Regions from separate parts of the Homo sapiens genome. Here region 2 is linked to region 1. Evidence: promoter capture Hi-C in 16 types of primary human blood cells and fetal thymus (Javierre and others, 2016). All regions are on one chromosome and are shown on one strand. Each heading gives the region's core, a stretch centred on a gene start or on the middle of the fragment in contact. The rest is flanking DNA. Distances are from core to core; before and after follow the strand shown. Region 1 holds the start of ENAH (ENAH actin regulator). Region 2 overlaps ENAH (ENAH actin regulator).

What was found. Contacts are between HindIII fragments. The CHiCAGO score rates a contact against its expected background, and 5 or more counts as called.
Region 2: a fragment that was not itself captured here is called in contact with the fragment with the promoter of ENAH in region 1 in 1 of 17 cell types (endothelial precursors); the score reaches 6.3 in endothelial precursors.

What each region holds. Positions count from the first base shown.
Region 1 is chr1:225,648,389-225,654,605 of GRCh38, forward strand. ENAH (ENAH actin regulator) reads right to left here and starts at 4,735. Exons shown (of 14, transcript NM_018212.6): 1 at 4,298-4,735. The coding sequence starts at 4,302. RefSeq lists a silencer at 4,585-4,714. The HindIII fragment of the contact is 13,770 bases long and covers 1-6,217 here.
Region 2 is chr1:225,486,610-225,493,668 of GRCh38, forward strand. It overlaps ENAH (ENAH actin regulator), which reads right to left. Exons shown (of 14, transcript NM_018212.6): 14 at 220-7,059. It overlaps LOC124904526 (a long non-coding RNA gene), which reads left to right. Exons shown (of 2, transcript XR_007066903.1): 2 at 1-225. Among named protein-coding and RNA genes, the nearest start is that of LINC02765, 22 kb to the left of the region's middle. The HindIII fragment of the contact is 2,064 bases long and covers 3,368-5,431 here.

The sequences.
Region 1 (6,217 bases), core at 3,485-5,984:
AAAACCTATTCAGTATGTAATTTCTTCTATACCAGCCAAATGGTGCCTCCATAGTTATTTTGCTTAATCCAACTGGGCCAACAAGGTATCCAACACCTTGAATACTGAATAAACTTTAGTGAATTTTCTCTATTAATCCACACTCTTCTTCAAGATTTATTCACTTAGTAAATTCCTACAATACTGACATTCAAAAAATGAAGATTTGGCTCTTGCTCCTAAAATAAACCTCTGTGGGAAAGTCACACATCCAACAGCTACGAGTATAAATGAAGACCCATGGGAACAAAGAGACTACTATTTGTATCCTTTCATGGATATCTCACTTGACACTTCACAAAACAATCCTGTGAAATATAAGATTATCTCCTTTTTTTTTTTTTTTTTTACCAGTTTACTCAATTAACAGGTCAGCATATAAAACCTGGATCTTCTGACCCTTGATTGTACCACACTCTGAAATGTATATAAAATTTATGATTACCACAAATAAAGATACTTCAAAGACCCTAAGGAAGGAAACACAGAAGAAGGGAACAGCTTCCTCACCTATAAAATAATAAAAATGTGGTCTTTTTGACATCCTTGAGCTAAATAAGGTCGCAAGGTGGAGCCCACTGCCCAGAAGTTTTACCCAAATAGTCTAACATAGAAATAGGCCTGGAAACAGGAGGAGTAACATAAATTTAAGGCTTACCAGTGTATAAAGTACCTTCTATTATCATTTGATCCTCACTACTCAGTTAAGAATTATCTCTATTTTTACATATTTTTTAAAAAGGCATCAGTGAAATAATGTGATTACTTCAAGGTCACCCAGCTAGTAAATGGCTTGGACAAATCCTCATAACCCTACTATACCTTTTTATATGAGAAAGTCAGAGTAGCTAGTGGAAGCCTGGACTATTTTAATACGGATCCAAGAATGTAAATACAAAATCTTCTGAGCTCTCCTTAGCCACCAGGCTACATGCAACTATTTTAGATCAGACAAGCTCCTCTTTCAGTTAAAAAAAAAAAAAAATCTTAAGTAACAAACCAACTAATTTTAAAAATGCACTTAAAAGGCACACACTGTATGTACATGCATACAAACGCATTCACATACATACACGCACACTTTAATCACAAAGCATCTTACACTTTTGAAACATTGCATAAATGAAAAATAAGAATAGAACTAAACAGACAGGACACTAAAAGTACCAGCTTTTTGGTCTCAACCTTTCCACTGTCCTGTATAAGTAATATGCTTTTTCATTTTTTAAATATTCATCTTTAAGCAAAATATTAACAAGTAAATCTATATACTGCATTTTACTCAAATGCCTATGACCGTTTCAGGAACATAAACTATTATTCAGTTCTCTTCTGTATAAGATTATACACAGTGATCATGCTATTCCTAAAATTAAAGTCATCTGACAGATACCACTAATAGTTATACCGTAATATATTCATCATATCCTCTGTTCAGGATTCTGACCGACTTAATTGGAAATTCCTGTTCAGGCATTCCTATTTCTGGATGGCCTTTGAAACATCAGAACTACCTCTTAATATAACCAAAAAGGACTCAACTTAAAAGACTAACATTAACGTCCCACAGGACTTGAAAGCATGAAGACTAAGCATATATTAATATAACCTGAAAAGCACTTCCTAAGCACCAAAATATCCCAAAGAATATTCCAAAGACTTTTGCAAGCAGCACAAGAACGTTTTATCCCATACCAATCTCACTTTTACAGGTATCTAAGCAAATCTAAGTACTACCTAACCACCTGCCAAATAATCCAGTACCTTCCAAAGTGAAAAGCTGACCCTCTTTCCTGCTCTTATTCAAAATTAGCCTACGAAGAATTACTGTAGACTGCTTAAATAAACTTTTCAGACCTGTGTACCAAGTTCTATATTTACGTTACTGGAAAACATCAGCGTGGTTCCTCTCTCTCTACACTTCATAAGGAACAGAGCAAGAAAAGAGCTTGAAAAACAGAAGTTACTTTTTATTAGAAAAGGAATTTTCAAGTGAAGACATAATTTACCTGTGACAGACTGACATCTATACATGACAGTGATTAAACTTCACTGAATACCCAAAACGGTAACTTTTTTTTAGTTCACAATCTTTGAATTAGACAACTATTCCTGTTTTTATTTAAAAATAACCCACTTTCGGCCAGGCACCGTGGCTCACGCCTGTAATCCCAGCACTTTGGGAGGCCGAAGCTGGTGGATCACGAGGTCCGGAGTTGGAGACCATCCTGGCTAACATGGTGAAACCCCGTCTCTACTAAAAATACAAAAAATTAGCCGGGCGTGGTGATACCCGCCTGTAATCCCAGCTACTTGGGAGGCTGAGGCAGGAGAATCGCTTGAACCCAGGAGGCGGAGGTTGCAGTGAGCCGAGACCGCGCCACTGCACTCCAGCCTGGGCAAGAGAGCAAGACTGCATTTAAAAAAAAAAAAAAAAAAAAAAAAAAAAAACTTTCCCTGTTTTATATTTCTCAATGTTAAGATAAGTTTACCCAAAGTTTGAAACAACTGATAACTTCTGGTCTGCAAGATCCCTACGGCATTAGATCTCTAAAACAGAAACCAACAACATATAATATTACAAGATATAACAGTATGTATATTATAGTTCCTGAGTTTAAGGACATCAGTAACTTGATTTAAAAAAAAAGAAGTCATGCTCAAACATACGACTCAAAGTTTTCAAGCCATATTTTACAAAGATTGTGTTTTTTGGTTCGTATGCTATAATTACTATTTAAACTCATCGCTTATATTTGAAAATAACTTGTGTGAAATCATCAAGGGAAAAGGGGTCAGTCGCCTAGAGACACCACATTAAACTCACTCTTTAAGGCCATCATAAATACAGGTAACTTGGAATCAGAAAAAAAAATTCAAATTCACAGTAAGCCTAAGTAAAAATTCAACAAAGATATATCACAATATATATATAAAAGCAAAATGGAAACACGTTTAACCTTGATAGAAAAAAAAAATGAAAAGCAAAGTTTAAAATGGAAACTACCGAAATTGAGAAAGAATTCCAATGACATGACATTTTCTTGCCAAAGCGAAGGAATTTGTAGATTATATCATTCAAATCTCATTGTATTACATTATAAAGGTCTTAGCAACGGTTGGCCATTAATCTTTAACACAAAGGAGATTCAAATCCAAATGAACTGTAAGACTATCTCTTCCAGGAGAGAGAAATGGAGTAATTTACTTTATCCACAATTGTTTAACCCAAAAGGAAGGCCTTTAAGGATGATAACGCAGAATGGATCAGCCTTCAGTCTACCAAGTCCCATTTCACACGAAGTCTTGCACCAATCCGAAAAGAGAAGGTTATGGACACAGAACAGGTTTAGGAAAGGCTGGAAAAAAAATCTCCAATGAATGACACACCACATCACGGTTTATTCTCCTACACAATTTGAGAAACAATAAAGAAAAATATCATACCATATGTTTCATCGTATCAATTAAAAAAATATTTTACGACAGTACATTCAATTCTTCGGGGCCGCAAAAATAATTTAGCTCCTGTTTTATTGAGTACAGAGCAAAGGGAAAAAGCAGCTGCTGCAATGCAACACAGGCTGCTACAGAGAAAGGGGAGAAAAGGCTTTTCCAAACAGATCCCTTCCCCGCCCCCGCTTACACACCCCTACCAACTTACTTATCCCAGTCTTTTACTGCCCCCACCACGTGAACCTAATCAATTCTTTCCCTTCCCCCACCATCGTGAAATTTCACCTTTCACAGCTCCTTCACCTACCCCTACCAGAGGCACTTTATTACCCGCAGAGATTTCAGACCTTTCAAACTTTTCTTCCTTTTTTAATTAAACACGAGAGTTCGGAGGCAAAAGTGCATGAAATTTTTACATATATACGAAAAAATACCTGTTTCCCAGCAACACGCACGCTTCGATTCTCGAACCCCTCCCCATCTCCCGGGTTTCGCTTGCAAAGGCTTGGGGGAGGGAGCCAGGCGCAAATTAAATTTAGGAAGGGAAATCCTGGGTGAAAGAAGAGCATTTGAGGAAAAATGAGAGAACGATGAAGCGAGACCCCCAAACCACACGGGTTGGGGAGGTTTCCAAGAAAGAAAGAGAAATTGGAAGGGACAAAAGGCGGAGGGGGGAGGAACAGACCGGAGACCAGGGGAGACGCGCCGGGCCGGGAGAGGGAAGGCGGGGTCCGAGGAGAACGGGGGTCGCGGCTCCCGCGGCACAATGGCCCGCCCGGCCCCCGCCCCGCGCGCCCCTCACCTCATGGTGCCGGCGGCGCAGAGGCTTCCCCACCAGCCGGGAGACGCAGAAGGCGCCGAGCCGAGGGGGGGGTCTCTCCTCCAGGGGTGGGGAGCAGCTCGGAGACGGGAGACAAGTGTCCGGCTCCTCCTTCGGCGGCCAGGGGGCTACACCATCTCCTCGCACAAAGCCGAGGCGCCGGCCGGGAGTGTGGGAGAAGAGGGCGAGAGAAAGGCTGGGGAGGGGGCGGAGAGGCCGAGGCGCGGAGCTGGTCCCCAGGCGGCCGCCGCCTCCCACCTCCTCGTGGTCCTGCTCCTCCTCCCGGAGCTTCCTCGGCCGCCCTCTGAGGGGTGCCCGCCGGGGCCGCGCGCCCGGCCGCCGCTCCACAGGCCCGCGCTCGCCGCGCCGCCGCCGAGGCCGTGTGCAACCGGCAGCTGCTGCAGCCGCGGGAGGAGAGTCGGGATCGCCGCGAGGAACCCGGGAGGAGGCGGGGCGCGCGGCGGAGGAACACGCAGGCGCCGCCCTCCTCCCCTCCTTCCCCCGGGGGCGAGGGGGCGGTGCGGGGGGAGGGGAGGAAAGGGGAGGCGGGGGGCCGGGCGCACTCCCCCGCGCCGGCGGCCGGGCCCCCGCCGGACTGCGGAGAGCGAGGCTGGGAGAGAGCGAGCGCGACGGCGGCGGCGGCGGAGAGAGGCTCTTTGTTGCCTCCCTACCCCGCCCCCTGCACCCCTCTGGGATTCGGGCGGGCCACCACCCCCCCCTCCCGCCCAACACCTCCGGCCAGTTGTCGGCCGGGGTTCCTCGCCCGTGGTTGTCCTTGACCGTCGGCCCCCTCCCCGTCGCCTCCCGCTCCCCAGAGGCTTGGGGAGCTCCGAGGCCTCCCCCACGGCCACGGTGCGGAGACCGAGGCGCCGAGACCTCCTGGGCGCCAGACCCGTAGGCACCGGCGTGGGGAGCTTGGACGCGTGACTGGGCACAGGGCCGGGCCAGGAGACTCCGGGTCGGCTCGCGGCCGGGTGCCCTCGCGCGGGGCGAGTGCTCAGCCCGCCCTGTTGCGGTCTCAGGACGGGGATGAGGGAATCGGGGGGCATCCCGGTCAGCCCAACTGCCCGCCCTCGCCGCGGCTGCGCCCAGCGATTCCTGCGGAGTTGAGGAGGGGCATATAAATGGAAAATATGGTCATCATTGTTCCCTTCGCTCCTTTTCTTCCCGAGGAATCCCAGCGTGCTGCGCCGATGGAACGAGTTGATGTGCACACTAGGTATAGGGATGACTTCATCCCCAAACGAACGCAGCCGACTCTCGGGGAAACGCAGTCGCCGGGAGACGCGCGCGGAACAGTGTGTTGCCGCAAGAGTGGAAGAAGAGAAACGCAGCCAGTGGAGCCGCTTTCCAGCGTCATTAGCAAAGAGGGAATCCCGGGCAGGGGGCGGGGAGAGAGAGGAACTAATGATAATTTTAAATTTTTCGTCATTCCCAATGGTCTTGAAGTCACCTCCCTTAAAAAGTAGATATAAAATACTGGCGAGGCAATTTCATTTCAAGTCAAGTCGGGGAGGAGGGCATCCAGGAAGCCAGAATTGATCGTTGTTGAAGGTTTTGTTTTCGGTTTTTTTTAAATCTAAAAACAAATCCAATAATAAAATTTTTAACTGTACGAATTACGGCCCCCTTTTAGTCCGGAAGACAGGGATGTACTTTCTGTATAAAAGGTGAGGAGGATAGAAAAGGGTTGTTGCTACAGGGATCCTATTGCTGAAGGATCTCATCCAAAATGGAGGACCTACCATGACTCCAGGAATCCATTCAAAAGTTTTGGTGTTTTGTTTTAAGATGCAGGTACCATTCAAAAGATAGTTAGGAAGGTTGGGATAATGTACACTTCCAAATGAAAAGACAGGTTATAGTGATCCGTGGTCAATGCCTGATTTGTCTATAATTGAA
Region 2 (7,059 bases), core at 3,150-5,649, 160 kb before region 1:
GAGGAGCAGCAGCATTCAGGGAAAGGATGGCGGATCGCAAAACACTCCCCTTGGTGACAGGCTGAAATGCAGAAGGACCAGTATAGAACGCTCCTCAAGCTTTTAGAACTGAGCGTATTTTAAGGTCAGAATCACAACCAAGACAAAAGAATGCAACTCTTTTCATGTCGTATACCTTTGGTAAATTAAGAGCAACTGGTAAAATAAATACAAATCTCATTTGAATTAAGTATTTCATGTTTTTATTTCAAAAGAAAAAAGGATACCAAGAAGCAGAAGAATGAAGCAGTTAAAACCAGCAAAGCTGCAAAGTAGGAAAGAAAGCTGAGGGAGAGATTGATCCGATTTCAACGATGTGGCCACTTAATGCAAACACAGGGGTCTGATGCTGCAAACCTAAGTCACATGAGTCCAGTGACTTCAGCAGGTCCACTGATCCACCACAGTGACAGGGCCAGGCCCCTTCCTGCTGAATCCTAACTTTACACATTCTAGACACATGTCATGCACATACAGGTTACACTTTATGGTTACATGAAATTGCATGCAATTCACACAGAGAATCATTTTGAAGGCACTGTATTTTGCAGCAGGAGCTGCTACTTTCTGGCAAGTCCTTCCTAGGTTGGCTCACAAGTGGTCCTCCTTTTTATTTATTCCTATATGAAACTTTGGTCCAAAAATCAGGTGCAGTCTGATCCTACCCTCCCAGCTGTTTTAGTTTCATGTCTCACCTTCTCTTCCACGTTCCCTTCTTAAACGTAGATGTCAAGCTTAGAAGATGTTTCCTGACAATGAGATCCTGTTTAATTCAGATTTTCAAACAACTTGAGTCAAGCAAGCAGGAGCTTATAGTATGTTGATTTAAAACAAGTTGTTACCAGTTTCCCTTACCCTTGAATTCGGCAAGGCCCATTAATTCACAAATTCCATGATAAGATACATGAGGTTCTGTATGCATAGTAAATGATTTCTAGTTACAATTAAAATACAGCCTTGTATATGTTTAAGTCAACCTTAACTTTTAAAACATGACTTCAGTATACGCAACCTTAGGCTCACTTCCAGATTATAAAGTCCCATTCATGGGGTGCAAATGTTTACATTGTTAGCAAAGAAAATAGCTCTGCATAATCTTTTGACATACATGCACACTTCTAGTTCTAAAATTCAGAGCAAAGCAAGATGACAAGAGATTCCAATTCCAGCATATATTATGAAAGGTTATGGACTGTGACTATCCATCCTTTTGGACCATAAGAAATTCACTTTTAAATTTTTTCTACTGTGCTGTTCTACTATATACTTTTGGTCTATCAACTTGGTAGGCCTGAAAAAAAAAAGTATTTAACCTTCTAAATCTCATAATAGAAATTATGTACGTTGTTCTTTAACCAGAAAGGTTCACTGCTGACTCCCCCACCTCTCAAAAAACAAACAAACAAACAAACACCACCAAAGCTTTCCGCCATTCATGCACATGCTTATTCTGACCCCAACCCCATCCCTACAAAGGGGCAGCAGACAGCACAATAGTCAAGGACAAGGTTTTTATTTATTTATTTATTTATTATTTATTTATTTATTTTTTAAGGAGACAGGCCTCGCTATGTTGCCCAGGCTGGCCTCCAACTTTGGGCTCAAGTGATCCTTCTGCCTCAGCCCCCCGAGTCGCTGTGCCTAGGAGCACGCACCACCACACCTGGCTTAAGTAGAAGGTTCTGAAATCTGCCAGAGGCTGAGCAACAGAAAGCTTCCAATGAGAACTCAGAAGGCATTCACTCTGCCTGAAGTTGTGCTCTGCTCACAGCACGAGTGTGGCTGTCCCTCTCTCGCTCCCACCAGCTACATAATAGGGACTTTCAGGATGCTCCTATAAATACAGACTCCAGAGAGGTTTCCTCAAAAATTAAAAAAAAAATTCTATGCAAATATGTAAGTACTGTCATTGAGGATTACAGAAATACTTTGCATCAACTACAGATGTCTCAAAATAGAATTCTTTCTAGCTCATTCAGTTTTGTTAGAAACACTTCATGTTCTCCAAAAAAGAAAAGCACCTAACGAAAAGCATGTCCTATTCATGCTAGCAAGAAATGAATCCCAAAGGACACGCACCAAGAACCAAAGTAAAAGAATGTCAGCAAAACAGGACCCATCTTTTATCATCCCAAACTGCTATTTCCATCTCTGACTTTCTGCCAAATTATCTTTATCTTCCTAAGACGAAGCAAAGACTCAGAGCCCTCAAATGGCACGGAAGCGGCACCTGGTCTGCCAAGACATTGCTGTTAAACAGAGTCTTTTGGATTAAAACCAGGGAACTCGGAAGGAATGACTACATGGATATAGATGGATAAGATGGAAGATATAAAATAAGAAGGGCAGGAGGGTAAGATTATTCCTTTTTTCCTTTCAAGGCTGACAGTGATAGAATAAACAGCAGCACAGCAGGTTCAGATGATATGAAAACCACTGAATTCTGCCCAGGAATTGAAAGAAGGGCTTCTTCACTTCATCGAGCTCTGGAAAGTCTGTTTACTTAGAAACAGCTCTTGAACTACAAGAGTCAAATGGACCTTCTGCTATTCATATAATTGGAGCATGGATCTCGTGTGGTCCCATTACATGATTGGAATCAGTCTTTCTGAACGGCAGAATGTGCTTCCAGGTTGAAGCACAATGGAGAATGTACTGAAGCCACCACAGAGATGCTGGTAATTCAAACTGTGAAAGCACGTGGCGCAGAGGAAACTGACACAGAACAGCACACCACTGGTGCTTTATGCAACACCACTGACCCCAAGATGGTCACTCCATTGATTTTTCCGCATTGTTTACATCCAGGATGCATGCTGTCCAGTGCAATAGCGTCTATGACTATAAAACAACTAAAAGCTGCACTTAAGATGGGAGAGCCAAACTCAGATCTTTTTTCTCCTTCTCTTCAAAGATCAAAAGAAGAATAAACCAAAAAAGATTAAAAAAAAAGAATAAACCAACCAGTAGCTGCCGAGAATACAGTGAAAGAGGAAATTCAGAACTCAACTTTATCGGGGATGGGCACGGTCGCTTATGCCTGTAATCCCAACACTTTGGGAGGCCAAGGTGGGTGGATCACCTGAGGTCAGGAGTTCGAGACCAGCCTGGCCAATACGGTGAAACCCTGTCTCTACTAAAAATACAAAAATTAGCCGGGTGTGGTGGCGCATGCCTGTAGTCCCAGCTACTAAGGAGGCTGAGGTAGGAGAATCGCTTGAACCCGGGAGGCAGAGGTTGCAGTGAGCTGAAATCACACCACTGCACTCCAGCCTGGATGACAGAGCGAGACTGTCTCGAAATAATAATAATAACAATAATAATAAAAAGCTTTATCTATCCTTGCTTGTATAGTGGCAAGGAAAAAATAAAAACAAAACAAAAAGAATTTAAAAAAAGAACTCAACTTTAGAGGTAGAAGGCTCAGAGAGAATGACTGACTAGCCCCACAGCCTGAAAACTGGTAAAGTCAGTCCCAGTCCAATGACCTGCCCACAACTCCACACACAAAAAAGGACAGACTGAGAGAGACTGAGGGCGGGAGGAACACAGAGAAAGGGAAATCAAGTCCAACAAGGTGGCAAAGACATGGACTCAATAACAATTTTTACCATGTTTTCTTTCAGAAACAAGGACATTTTATGTGAGGATCAAATATTCTCCCTTCAAAAACTTCTGCAATTGAAGGCCGAGGCGGGCAGATCACCTGAGCTCAGGAGTTCAAGACCAGCCTGGGCAACATGGTGAAACCCCATCTCTACTAAAAATACAAAAATTAGTCGGGCATGGTGGCACGCGCCTGTAGTCCCAGCTACTTGGGAGGCTGAGGCAGGAAAATCCCTTTGAACCCAGGGGGGGGAAGTTGCAGTGAGCCGAGATCGCACCACTGCACTCCAACCTGAGTGACAGAGCAACACTCCGTCAAAAATTTTTTTTTGCAATTGAAACTTAAAATGATCAAGCCCAAAGTACCTCTGGGAAGGACACCAAATTGTAAAGTCCTGACTCAGGCCTGAACCTCCCATCCCTCTAGTAATAAAGAAGAAAGGAAATGCTACCTAGATTTTAACAGGGCTTTCTTCTCAATATCTAAGCCTTCCCAATTACTTTCCTCAGATAAACTATAAGCTATTCTTCTCCTGGAAATTTAAGTGGCAAAGTCAACGTCTTTTACCAACCATCCATGGGCTATTGCTGAGTTGCGGAACTAGCCTACAGCTAACTCAAATTCATCACCTCAGACTCACTGTGATGCCCAACCACTGGCACTGGGGTGGCCTTATGACTTACGACAATCAAATGGGGTTTGTGAATCCATGGTTAAGCTAGCCTGCCACCAAGGATGGACAAACCTCAGACTTGATCAATGGGTGGAGGGAAACTCCATATTTAAAATGCCCAGTGCCTCGGTCAGCAGAACCAACCAAGTGACACCTGAGATCAACTGGTAGTAATAATGAAAAGCTGGTATTTCTCACATAAAACACGTTGAAAAACATTTATTTATTTAGAGATGGAATCTCGCTCTGTCGCCCAGGCTGGAGTACAGTGGCGCGGTCTTAGCTCACTGCAACCTCCACCTCCTGGATTCAAGCGACTCTTCTGTCTCAGCCTCCCGAAGAGCTGGGATTACAGGTGCCCACCACTATGCCCAGCCAATTTTTTTGTATTTTTAGTAGAGATGGGGTTTCATCATGTTGGCCAGGCTGGTCTCAAACTCCTGACCTCAGGTGATCTGCCCACCTCAGCCTCCCAAAGTGCTGGGATTACAGGCGTGAGCCACCATGCCCGGCCATGAAACATTTATTTTTAAAATGCCTTTAATCTTTAAAAAAAAAAATAAAAGAAAAAGAAAAAAAGAAAAGAGGTTTCACAGATGTGACTAAAGCATGGACTGTTAGGCGCTTAAGAGACCAAATTTTTAAAAGCGTTCTGTAATGTATCTCTCTTATATGGTTGCAACAATGTGTATTTTAAGTGTAAGCCAAGAACCTTTTCTCTCAGTTTCTATAGACTTGGATGGAAACTTTTGGACTTGATGGGAAAATTAACTCTCAATCTAAACACTAGCCAATGTAGACTTTTTCTTCTGAGTGCTTTTTCCTATGGAATTCAAAGTACCAACTATTCAATTCTCGATTTTCTAAGCCTTCTTAGAAGAATAACTATTTACTAAAACCCAACCAAACCAACCTATAACATCATCCATCTCCTTTATTAGTTATTTCTTTATGCTTTTAGAATTGTCATCTACTGCTGAAGAAATCTTTCTTGGAATTGAAGGGAACAGTTAAATCAGATTTACATGATAAACTATGGGTTGTCATTTGTATATAGAACTTTTACGGAATAAATGTAGTCTAACAAACTGGGCTCTCTAATGAAATATGTAAGCTTTTCTAATAATTTCTATGAAAAGCTATATTCTCTTAGAATTTTTTTTTTTTTTTTTTAGAGACAGGTTCTCGCTCTGTCACCCAGGCTGGAGTACAGTGGCATGATAACGGCTCACTGCAGCCGCGTCCTCCCTGGGCTCAGGTGATCCTCCCGCTTCAGTCTCCTGAGTAGCTGGGATTACAGGTGTGCACCACCATGCCTGGCCTAAATTTTTAAATTTTTTTGTAGAAATGAGTCTCCCTGTTACCCAGGCTGATCTCAAAACTTCTGGCCTCAAGCAATCCTCCCGCCTCTGACCAGTTTACCGAGCTATTTAGATGTCCTAACTACTAGGAATTATATGTCTTTAAAAACTGAGGAAAAAGAACAGCACTACTCAAATGGTATATTCTTTTTACTCTCAGCCACCAACTGGGGCCCCTAATTTTCTCCCTCTGCCTAGAATTCCTGTGTCCTACACCAGAAGCGTCTACGGGCCCTGCTCTCTGCTCTTTATGAGTATTTAACATGCTTCACAGAACGGGGGTGCAGCTCAGTGACTGTGATTCTTTGGTTCAAACACTTAATTGGGGCTTCATCTTTGATTTTTTCTGCATGTTAATCTGCAAATACTCAAGGCCTACTATGTGCTTTAAATGATACTAACACTTCCGTTTAGAAGGTTGTGTGCATCACAGAGTATCTGTAACGGGGACAGTCCTATTTCCCTTTCTCAATTTTCAGATGTATCGATTCCTTCAGATTTCAACAGAAATAACCAATAAATGTGGCAGACATTCTTACAACATCCTAAGTCATTATGACAGTCATTTATCCTTTTACAATGTTTCTGTTACTTTATAAAGAAAACTATTTAGAAAGACAAATTTAGTTAATTCTTTAGCAGTTGTCAAATGTGTCTCCTCACCAAAAGATTTTACTCTTATGTGACTTGACCATTAGTATTCCACAAATAATTTATCCTAGAACTCCATTTATTTATGTTGATGGTGAGTATCTGTAACCATCCTAAATTTACTGCATTAATATTTTACTTTTCTTTCTAATCAATTTTAGGTTTTAATTTGAAGGTTTCATCTTTCCAGTATTGATATTTTAAAAAATCTTGATGTCTCAAAAATTATCGAGAGATAACATAAAGGGGAACACACCAAATAATCCACAGCTTTTGATGTTGGGAACAGAAAAACCTGCATCACAGACCTCCAACAGTTCTTGGCTTCTATAAACGGACTTTCTTGAGGGGTTACTGACTTCAGCTGCTTAGTCAAATCTACAAATCCTCAAAAGAAAACTCTTCTTTAAGTAATTGTCCTCTACTATGTCTTTACATAGCCAAAGCTACCTACATCAATTTCATTCCTTCAGAGTCATGGAGATTCCTTATAAATACCTGTATGTCAAGTTTTGACTTTAAAAATATTAAATGGCTTTTAGTGAAAAGGCAGAGGTATTAAACATCAGTAATTTCAATATACTAGGATCCTTTTCTCATTCCTTAGAGCTTTGGAGAGATGTACAGATATGAACTCATCTTTCTATTAAAAACAAAAGTGGTGCTACCAGAAAAAGGTTTGGAGTTTGGAAGTGAATGAGAGTAAATGTCTTCAGGAAAGTGAATTT